Regions from separate parts of the Homo sapiens genome. Here region 1 is linked to region 2. Evidence: promoter capture Hi-C in 16 types of primary human blood cells and fetal thymus (Javierre and others, 2016). All regions are on one chromosome and are shown on one strand. The core of a region is centred on a gene start or on the middle of the fragment in contact, and the rest is flanking DNA. Distances in the headings are between cores, read along the strand shown. Region 1 has its middle 18 kb from the start of CRLF2. Region 2 holds the start of AKAP17A (A-kinase anchoring protein 17A).

Evidence for each region. Contacts are between HindIII fragments. The CHiCAGO score rates a contact against its expected background, and 5 or more counts as called.
Region 1: a contact is called between a fragment that was not itself captured here and the fragment with the promoter of AKAP17A in region 2, in 1 of 17 cell types (neutrophils). The highest score is 6.4, in neutrophils.

Annotation. Positions count from the first base shown.
Region 1 is chrX:1,227,841-1,233,290 of GRCh38, reverse strand. No RefSeq gene overlaps it. Among named protein-coding and RNA genes, the nearest start is that of CRLF2, 18 kb to the right of the region's middle. The HindIII fragment of the contact is 2,408 bases long and covers 1,199-3,606 here.
Region 2 is chrX:1,587,503-1,593,061 of GRCh38, reverse strand. AKAP17A (A-kinase anchoring protein 17A) reads right to left here and starts at 1,458. Exons shown (of 5, transcript NM_005088.3): 1 at 1,293-1,458. The HindIII fragment of the contact is 17,990 bases long and covers 353-5,559 here.

The DNA of each region.
Region 1 (5,450 bases), core at 1,153-3,652, 360 kb after region 2:
TTTGCTCTTTCACCGAGGATGGAGTGCAATGGTGCAATCCCGGCTCACTGCAACCTCTGCCTCCTGGGTTCAAGTGATTCTCCTGCCTCAGCCTCCTGAGTAGCTGGGAATACAGGCACCCACCACCACGCCCGGCTAATTTTTGTATTTTTAGCGGACACGGGGTTTCACTATGTTGGCCAGGCTGGTCTCGATCTCCTGGCCTCGTGATCAGCCCGCCTCGGCCTCCCAAAGTGCTGGGATTACACGCATGAGCCTTGGCGTCTAGCGTAGTTTATCAATAATGTTATACTATCCCTTCCCTTCTCATTCACCATGCCCCTTGCAAACCCCCTCCCGTGCTAACAATAGAGAACCACGTTTTGCTGTAATTTTCCATTACCTACCCAACTCCTATAAAGCCACAACTTCCCCATCTCCCTTCGCTGACCGTCTCTTCGGACTCAGCCTACTTGCACCCGAGTGAACAAACAGCTTTATTTTGCTCACACAAAGCACCTGGCCAGTGGTTGCCTCTTATCTTGGACATTTCACCTCGCTGGTGTTTAGATCACACGTTTGTAATGCAGGCACGGATCGGCCGGGCGCAGTGACTCACGCCTGTAATCCCAGGACTTTGGGAGGCCGAGGCGGGCGGATCACGAGGTCAGGAGTTTGAGACCAGCCTGGCCAACATGGTGAAACCCCGTCTCTACTAAAAATATAAAAAATTAGCTGGGTGTGTGGGTATGCACCTGTAATCCCAGCTACTCGGGAGGCTGAGGCAGGAGAGTTGCTTGAACCCGGGAGGTGGAGGTTGCAGTGAGCTGAGATCGCGCCCCTGCACTCCAGCCTGGGCGACAGAGCGAGAGTCCGTCCCGAAAAAAAGAAAATACAGTCACAGATTCAGGTCTCCCTGACAAGTCTGTAGTAGGGAGCGAATAAAGCCATACATCTCAAGATGCAAGCCCAGCGCTGAGCCACACGCAATGTTCTGAGCCCCTTGATCTCTGCAACCGTTGATTTTTATCACAAAGCAGAAGGAACTGCAAGAAACGGTTTGCAATTCAGATCAGAGAGACTTTCGCAGACCTGCCACACAGAAGGAGGCCTTCTCTTTCATTCTATCTCATTAGGAAATGTATTTATTCATTCTAATTCATACATAAAAATTTGAAGTCCTAAAATTTGAGACAGGTCTCATTTAACTTCGAAAGCTTCTTTTGCCAAGGCTGAGGATGTGTTTCCGTGACACAGCCTCATGAGGTCCTGATGACACGTGCCCATGCTTCGGGTACAGCTTGTTTTGGTTTTTTGGTTTTTTTTTTGTTTGTTTGTTTTGTTTTTTTTTGAGATGGAGTCTCACCCTGTTACCCAGGCTGGAACACAGTGACATGATCTCAGCTCACTGCAACCTCCACCTCCCGGGTTCAAGCAATTCTCCTGCCTCAGCCTCCCAAGGAGCTGAGACTACAGGCACCTGCCACAACACCCCAGCTAATTTTTGTATTTTTAGTAGAGACGGGATTTCGCCATGTTGGCCAGGCTGGTCTCCAACTCCTGACCTCAGGTGATCCGCCCGCCTCGGCCTCCCAAAGTGCTGGGATTACAGGTGAGAGGCACCCACGCCCGGCTGATTTTTTTTTTTTTTTTTTTGAGACGGAGTCTCACCGTGTTGCCCAGGCTGGAGTGCAGTGACACGATCTCAGCTCACTGCAACCTCCGCCTCCCGGGTTCAAGCGATTCTCCTGCCTCAGCCTCCCGAGTAGCTGGGACCACAGGCGCACATCACCATGCCCGGCTAATTTTTTGTATTTTCGTAGAGACGGGGATTCACCGTGTTAGCCAGGATGGTCTTGAACTCCTGACATCACGCAGTCCACCCGCCTTGGGCTCCCAAAGTGCTGGGATTACAGGCTGGAGCCACTGCACTTGGCCATTTTTTTTTTTTTTTTTTCCTGAGACAGAGTCTCACCCTGTTGCCCAGGCTAGAGTGCAGTGACATGATCTCGGCTCACTGCAACCTCTGCCTCCTGGGTTCAAGCGATTCTCCTGCCTCAGCCTCTTGAGTAGCTGGGATTACAGGCATGCACCACCACGCCTGGCTAATTTTTGTATTATTAGTAGAGATAGGGTCTCACTATGTTGGCCAGGCTGGTCTCGAACTCCTGACCTCAGGTGATCCACCCACCTCGGCCTCCCGAAGTGCTGGGATTACAGGCATGAGCCATCAGGCCCGGCCTTACAGCTTGGTTTTATACTTTTTTCTTTTTTGAGATGTTGTCTCTCTCTGTCGCCCAGGCTGGAGTGCAGTGGCGTGATCTCCGCTCACTGCAACCTCCGCCTCCAGGGTTCAAGCGATTCTCCTGCCTCAGCCTCCCGAGTAGCTGGGACTACAGGCGCCCGCCACCACTTTTGGCTAGTTTTTGTATTTTTAGTAGACACTAGGTTCACACTGTTGACCAGGCTGTTCTCAAACTCTTGACCTCAGGTGATCTGCCTGGCTCAACCTTCCAAAGCGCTGGGATGACAGGCGTGGGCCACTGCGCCCAGTTCATTGTATGCATTTTTTTTTTTTTTTTGAGACGGAGTCTCACTCTGTCACCCAGGCTGGAGTGCAGTGCCGCGGTCTCGGCTCACTGCGACCTCCGCCTTCTGGGTTCAGGCGATTCTCCTGCCTCAGCCTCCCGAGTAGCTGGGATTACAGGCACCTGCCACTACATTTGGCTAATTTTTTTTTTTTTTTTTGTATTTTTAGTAGAGACAGGGTTTCACCATGTTGGCCAGGCTGGTCTTGAACTCCTAACCTTAGGTGACCCACCCGCCTCGGCCTCCCAAAGTGCTGGGATGACAGGCGTGAGCCTCCGCGCCCGGCCTTTGTTTTATGCATTTTAAGGAGACATGAGATGTGAATTAATATATGTAAGAAGTACACTGGTTCTGTGCAGAAAGGCAGGGATGACTTAAAGCAAGCAGGGGGCTCCCAGGTCCGAGGTAGGTGAGAGACCGATGGCTGTATTCCTCTGAGTTTCTGATAAGCCTCTCGAAAGCAGGCAATCAGAATATGCATCTATCTCCATGACCACAGGGTTGACTTTTTATAGAAACGGAGGCAGATTTGCCCTGAGCACCTCCTAGCTTGAATTTTCTCTTTAGCTTAGTGATTTTGGCCAGGCTGGTCTCCAACTCCTGACCTCAGGTGATCCACCTGCCTCGGCCTCCCAAAGTCCTGGGATCACAGGCGTGAGCCGCCACGCCCGGCCCCTGCTCAGTTTTTCTTTAAACCTGAACTTCTCTACAAACAAAAAGACAAACAAACAAAAAACCATTGAATGAAAAAAGAAAGTCAGTCTGAGATGGCTACAGACTATGGCTGCAACTATAAGACATTCTAGAAAAGGCAAAACTGTCCGGGCACGGTGGCTCACGCCTGTCATCCCAACACTTTGGGAGGCCGAGGTGGGTGGATCACCTGAAGTCGGGAGTTCAAGACCAGCCTGGCCGACATGGGGAAACCTCGTCTCTACAGAAAACACAAAATCAGCCGGGCTTGGTGGCGGGCACCTGTCATCTCAGCTACTCGGGAGGCTGAGGCAGGAGAATCGCTTGAACCTGGGAGGCAAAGCTTGCAGTGAACCCAGATCACGCGACTGCACTCCAACGTGGGAGACAGAGTGAGACTCTGTGTCAAAAAAAAAAAAGAAAAGAAAAGAAAAGAAAAAGAAAGCAAACTTATGCAGACAGTAAGATGATCAGGGGTGGCCAGAGGTGTCAGGCAGGGAGGAATGAACAGGTAGAACTCAGGGGATTTTTAGAGCAGTGAAACTCCTCCATTTGATCGTATAATGGTCCATCCAACGTCACTATATGTTTGTCCAAACGCACAGAACTTACAACAGCAACAAAGAACTCTTTTTTTTTTGAGATGGAGGCTCGCTCTATCGCCCAGGCTGGAGTGCAGTGGCGCGATCTCAGCTCACTGCAAACTCCACCTCCCAGGTTCACGCCATTCTCCTGCCTCAGCCTCCCGAGTAGCTGAGACTACAGGCGCCCGCCACCACGCCCGGCTAATTATTTTTGTATTTTTAGTAGAGATGGGGTTTCACCATGTTAGCCAGGATGGTCTCAATCTCCTGACCTGGTGATATACCCGTCTCGGCCTCCCTAAGTGCTGGGATGACAGGCGTGAGCCACCGCGCCCGGCCAACAGCAACAAAGAACTCTAACATGGGCTGGGAGTGGTGGCTCACACCTGTCATCCCAGCACTGGGAGGCTGAGGCGGGCGGATCACCTGAGGTCAGGAGTTCGAGACCAGCCTGACCAACATGGTGAAACCCCGTCTCTAGTAAAAATACAAAAATTAGCCGGGCGTGGTGGAGGGTGCCTGTAGTCCCAGCTACTCGGGAGGCTGAGGCAGGAGAATGGCGTGAACCCAGGAGGCGGAGGTTGCAGTGAGCTGAGATCGCGCCACTGCACTCCAGCCTGGGCGACAGAGTGAGACTCTGTCTCAAAAAAAAGAACTCTAATGTGAACTGTTATTGACTATTCTGTTCATAATATATCAGTATTAGTTCATGGATTGTAACAAACACACCAAGCTGAGGCAGGGTGTTCACCATAGACGAAGCTGTGAGCTGGGGAGAGGATATATAAGAACTTTCTGTACTTTCTGCAAATTTTGCTCTAAACCTAAAAACACTCTAAAAATAGCCTGTATATTTTTTTAAGAAAACCACTTCTGTAGTTTCCCTTCATAGTCTTTGTAGTTGCCTTCGTGGATCTCCAGGATTTCTGGTCACGATGTTTACACATTACCTATAGGAGGTTTTCTTTGGAATAACTCCACACTTTTCCAAAAAAAAAAAAAAAAAAGGCAGTTGATGGTAAATCAAGGGTAGGAAAATGGTTGAACAGAGAGGTGAAGGACCATTTACTTAATTACATTATTATTATTATTTTATAACAATAAAGGAATAGGGCCGGGCGCAGTGGCTTATGCCTGTAATCCCAACACTTCGGGAGGCCGAGTTGGGTGGATCATCTGAGGTCGGGAATTCGAGACCAGCCTGGCCAACATGGTGAAACTCCATCCCTACCAAAAATAAAAAAAATTAGCCGGGCCTGGTGGTGCATGCCTGTAATCCCAGCTACTTGGGAGGCTGAGGGAGGAGGATCACTTGAACCCAGGAGGTGGAAGTTGCAGTGAGCCGAGATCATGCCATTGCACTCCAGCCTGGGCAATGGAGTGAGACTCCAATTCAAAAAAATAAATAAATAAAATAATAGTAATATCCATCCATCCATCAACCCACCCACTCACTCACCCATCTATCCATCCATCCACCCATTCATTCATTCATCCATCCATCCATCCATCCATCCATCCATCCATCCATCCATCATTATAATGTTTGTTAAGAGTTTTATGATTTTGTCTGGGAACGGATCTGAGCTTCTGGAAAAAAAATAT
Region 2 (5,559 bases), core at 209-2,708:
GGAAGGGGCAGAGAGACACTGGGGAAGGGAAGGGGCCAGGGAGAGCACAGCTGCAGGCATCTGGAAAGGTTTTGTGGAGGGGGCGGCGGCCCTGTACTTGCCCTGATAAAACAGGAAGTCTCGGGCTGCAACAACAATCCAGAACCATGAACCCTAGTAATCTCCACGAAGGCCAAACGTATCCCAGCTTTAACCCACTCAAAGCCAAAAAGTACAACGAACTTTCCACAAGTTAGGGGCCGGAGTCCCCCGTCTGCGCCTTCTTTCTCCGCCCACCTTCATTAACCCACCTCTTCCCTGCTGAGCTGACGGGCAGCCACTTCCTGACGGCCAAGTCCAAGTAGAGGAAGCTTCACTCGCAGAAACCCAACCATCTCAGGTGACCGCCTCCGGCCCGGCCGCCCACCCCATCAACCTGGAGGCTTCCTGCCAGGCCCAGGAGACGGCCTCCTCGCCCAAGCCCGAGGTGGGAGGTGCGAAAGAAGGGAGGGAGGGTGGAGAAGCGACCAGAAAAGGTCAGTGGGGCACCAGGGAGGGGCTCCAGTCTGGACAGAGACCAGTGAACCCTCCCCCAGAACCCAAGCGGCCCCAGCAACTTCACCACCGAGGAACCCTCCCCACTCTGGCCTCCAGCGCCCTCCGACCACCCCGGTACACCTGGCTGCCCAATCCCCAGTACGCGGCATTGCCCCTGGTATTCCCACCTACCGCAGCCCCCCAGCATGGCCTCAGGCTGCCGCTGGCACCCCTGGCAGGGCCCCACACATTCTCAGGCCCTTGGCCACTCGGTACCCTCAGCTCCTCAGTTCCCCGCTCCCCACCACCCTCCTGGATGAGCCCCAATACCCCAACCTACACAGCACCGCCCCAGCCTCCGAAAACCCCGGACAGCCCCTTGCTTCCCACTGTAGACCTAGGAGCGACCGCAGCGCCACGTCCCCTAGTCCCAGGCCTCCTAGTCTCCCGCCCATCCGATCCCCCGAGCTCCCAGCCCTCCGACACCGCTCCAGGCCTCAGCTCCTTCGGTGCAGTCCCAGGAACCGCTCCAGCCCCTACCCCTACTTCCAGGGACCCCCGGACCCCGACCGCAGACCTCCCCAGCCCCCGATTCCCCCGTACAGTTTCAGGCGCTCCCAGCCCCCCGGTGGCACCCCACGCCCCCCAACCCCAGCCCCGTCACCTCCGAGGCCCCTAGGCGCCGCCTCCCAAGCCCCGGCCCCCCGGGCCCGGCCCTAGGAGCGAAGCGTTCGCCGGCTGCAGCCAGGCCCGGGAGGCACGGGGGCGGCACTCACCTGCGCGGGGCTCCGCCTGCGTCCCAGGCCGCCGCCGCCGCTGGCCCAAGCTCCCGCCGTCCCTCGACGATCCCCGGACAGGCGCGGCCTCACCGCCGGGAGCCGCCACCGTCCCCCGGAGGCGCCTCCGACGCCGCCACCGCCGTCGCCGCCCGCCCTCTATGACGCATTTCCACTTCCGGCGCGCGGGCTCGCGGAAGAGGCCGCGCGGCAGCACCGGGTTTCTCCTTCTTGCCCTGGCTCCGCCCCCGGGAGGAGGGACTTCCGGGAGCCCGACCTTTTGCACTGCGCGTGCGCGAGTCCGCCCCGCCCCCATGGTGCCACCTGCCTGCGGGTAACCAGGGGAGGTACTTGGGCCAGGGTCTGTGGTCATAGCCCTTAAGCCAAACAGGAGGGGGGCCGGTGTGGGGTCTAAATTCCAATTGTAGAGTCAAATATATATAACAAAATTCTAAAATGTAATAGGATCCTATAACGGGATTCTATACTATACTTGCAAATTATGGGTAATATACTTGAATAATATAATTTATGTATAAATTAGATATCATATTCTATGACGTAATTATAGAATTACATATAAATTGCTAGTTAATTAACTATTAATTGAATGGTTAATAATTATTAATTGTATATTAATAATTATTAACGCATACCATTACATAATGTAATTATGAAATAATAAATGATAACTTACAATGGTATTATGAAATTAATAATAATTTATATTGCAATTATGAAATAAATGATCATTTCTAATTATAAGATAATTTATAATGTAATTATGAAATAAATATAATGTAATTTAAAAATAAATGATAATCTAATGTAATTATGAAGCAAATGCTATTGTATAATATAATCATAATTTATAATGTAATTTTGGAATAATAAATGATAATCTATAGTGTAATTATGAAATAAATGAAAATATATAATGTAATTCTGAAATGATCATTTATAATGTAATTATGAAATAATAAATGACAATTTATAATGTGATTACAAAATAATAAATGAGGCCAGGTGCGGTGGCTCACGTCTGTAATGCCAGCACTTTGGAGGGCCAAGGCGGGCAGATCACAAGGTCAGGAGTTCAAGACCAGCCTGGGGCCGGGCCCGGTGGCTCATGCCTGTAATCCCAGCACTTTGGGAGGCCGAGATGTGCGGATGATGAGGTCAGGAGATCGAGACCATCCTGGCTAACACGATGAAACCCCGTCTTTACTAAAATACAAAAAATAATCAGCCGGGCGTGGTGGTGGGCACCTGTAGTCCCAGCTACCAGCTACTCGGGAGGCTGTGGCAGGAGAATGGCGTGAACCTGGGAGGTGGGGCTTGCAGTGAGACCGTGCCACTGCACTCCAGCCTGGTTGACAGAGCGAGACTCCATGTCAAAACAAAACAAAAAAAAGACCAGCCTGGCCAGCATGGTGAAACCCCGTCTCTACTAAAAAGACAAAAAACTAGCCGGGTGTGGAGGTGGTTGCCTATAGTCCCAGCTACTCAGGAGGCTGAGGCAGGCCCGAGAATCACTTGAACCCAGGAGGCAGAGGTTGCAGTGAGCGAAGATGGCGCCACTGCACTCCATCCTGGGCAACAGAGCGAGACTCTGTCTCCAATAAATAAATAAATAAGTAATGATAATTTATAATGCATTATTCATTTTTTATTATAATTTATTGTTTATTAAGTATGCCATGCTCTATGTGAGAGGTACGTGCTTCTGACGTCCCAAATATGTCACAAGTCCCCAAACTGGATATCCAGGGTCAGATAATCAGAACAGAAATCTTGCATTGCTCAACATCAGCTATCAACAAAGGAGAAAGCCAACACACCAGGGGCCTGAGGAAGACGGAACATTCTGTGAACCCAGGCAGGCTTCAGAGGGGCCGGGCTGTGTAAGAGGGTTGCTATGCCTTCCATGTTTCTGTCCTTCCAAAACTCAAGTTCAAACTCAGTTCCCACTGCAAGAGTATTAGAGGTGGTGCTTTTAGGAGGTGGTTAGGTCATGAGTGGGATTTGTGCTCTTAGAAGACAGGCCCCAGAGAGCTCTCTCACCCCTTCCACCATGTGAGGACACAGCCAGAAGGAACCACCTGTGAACCAGCAAGCGGGTCCTCACTAGACACTGAACCTCCCACTCATTGATCTTGGACTCTCAGCCTCCAGAACCGTGAGACATAAAAGTCTGTGATTTAGGCCGGGTACAGTGGCTCATGCCTGTAATCCCAGCACTTTGGGAAGCCGAGGCGGGTGGATCACCTGAGGTCAGGAGTTTGAGACAATTGTGGCCAACATGGTGAAACCCTGTCTTTACTAAAAATACAAAAATTAGCTGGGCGTGGTGGTGCGCACCTGTAATCCCAGCTATTCAGGAGGCTGAGGCAGGAGAATTGCTTGAACCCGGGAGGTGGAGGTCGCAATGAGCCAAGATTGCGCCATTGCACTCCAGCCTGGATGACAAGAGGAAGACTCCATCTCAAAAGAAGGGGAGGGGAGGGGAAGGGAGGGGAATGGAGGGGAAGGGAGGGGAAGGGAGAGGAGGGGAGGGGAAGGGAGGGGAATGGAGGGGAAGGGAGGGGAATGGAGGGGAAGGGAGGGGAAGGGAGAGGAGGGGAGGGGAAGGGAGAGGAGGGGAGGGGAAGGGAAAGGAGGGGAGGGGAGGGGAAGGGAGGGGAGGGGAAGGGAGGGGAGGGGAGGAGGGGATGGGAGGAAAGAAGGGAAGGGAAGGGGAGGGGAAGGGGGGAGGAGAGGGGAGGGGAAGGGAGCGGAGGAAAGGGGAGGGGGGAGGGGAAGGGAGGGGAGGGGAGGAGGGGATAGGAGGAAAGAAGGGAAGGGAAGGGGAGGGGAAGGGGGGAGGAGAGGGGAGGGGAAGGGAGTGGAGGAAAGGGGAGGGGGAGGGGAAGGGAGGGGAGGGGAAGGGAAGGGAGGGGAGGGGAGGCGAAGGGGGAGGAGAGGGGAGGGGAAGGGAAGGGAGGGGAGGGGGAGGGGAAGGGAGAGGAGGGGAGGGGAAGGGAGAGGAGGGGAGGGGAAGGGAAAGGAGGGGAGGGGAGGGGAGGGGAAGGGAGGGGAAGGGAGAGGAGGGGAGGGGAAGGGAGAGGAGGGGAGGGGAAGGGAAAGGAGGGGAGGGGAGGAGAGGGGAAAGGAGGGGAGGGGAGGGGAAGGGAGGGGAGGGGAAGGGAGGGGAGGGGAGGAGGGGATGGGAGGAAAGAAGGGAAGGGAAGGGGAGGGGAAGGGGGGAGGAGAGGGGAGGGGAAGGGAGTGGAGGAAAGGGGAGGGGGGAGGGGAAGGGAGGGGAGGGGGGAGGGGAAGGGAGGGGAGGGGAGGGGAGGGGAAGCGAAGGGAGGGGAGGGGGGGAGGGGAAGGGAGAGGAGGGGAGGGGAAGGGAAAGGAGGGGAGGGGAGGGGAAGGGAGGGGAAGGGAGAGGAGGGGAGGGGAAGGGAGAGGAGGGGAGGGGGAGGGAAAGGAGGGGAGGGGAGGAGAGGGGAAAGGAGGGGAGGGGAAGGGAGGGGAGGGGAAGGGAGGGGAGGAGGGGATGGGAGGAAAGAAGGGAAGGGAAGGGGCGGGGAAGGGGGGAGGAGAGGGGAGGGGAAGGGAGCAGAGGAAAGGGGAGGGGGGAGGGGAAGGGAGGGGAGGGGAGGAGAAGGAAGGGGAGGGGAGGGGAGGGCAGGGGAAGGGAGGGGAAGGGAGGGGAAGGGAGGGGAAGGGAGGAGGGGATGGGAGGAAAGAAGGGAATGGAAGAGGAGGGGAAAGGAAGGGAGGAGAGGGGAGGGGAAGGGGGGGAGGAGAGGGCAGGGGAAGAGGGGGAGGAGAGGGCAGGGGAAGGGGGGAGGAGAGGGGAGGGGAAGGGGGGAGGAGAGGGGAGGGGAAGTGGGGAGGAGAGGGGAGGGGAAGGGGGGAGGGGAGGGGAAGGGGGAGGGGAGGGGAGGGGAAGGGGGGAGGAGAGGGGAGGGGAAGGGAGGGGAGGAGAGGGGAAGGGAAGGGAGGGGAGGAGAGGGGAGGGGAAGGGAGGGGAAGGGAGGGGAGAGGAGGGGAGGGGAAGGGAGGGGAAGGGAGGGGAGGGGAGGGGAGGGGAAGGGAAGGGAGAGGAGGGGAAGGGAGGGGAGGGGAGGGGAGGGGAAGGGAAGGTAGAGGAGGGGAAGGGAGGGGAGGGGAAGGAAGAAGAGGGCTTGTGGGTATTTGGGGGGGCGTTTGCATTGTGTGAGCCATGATGTCCATAAAGGCTAATATTAATATGATTATGAGTCTCTACTTGACCAAG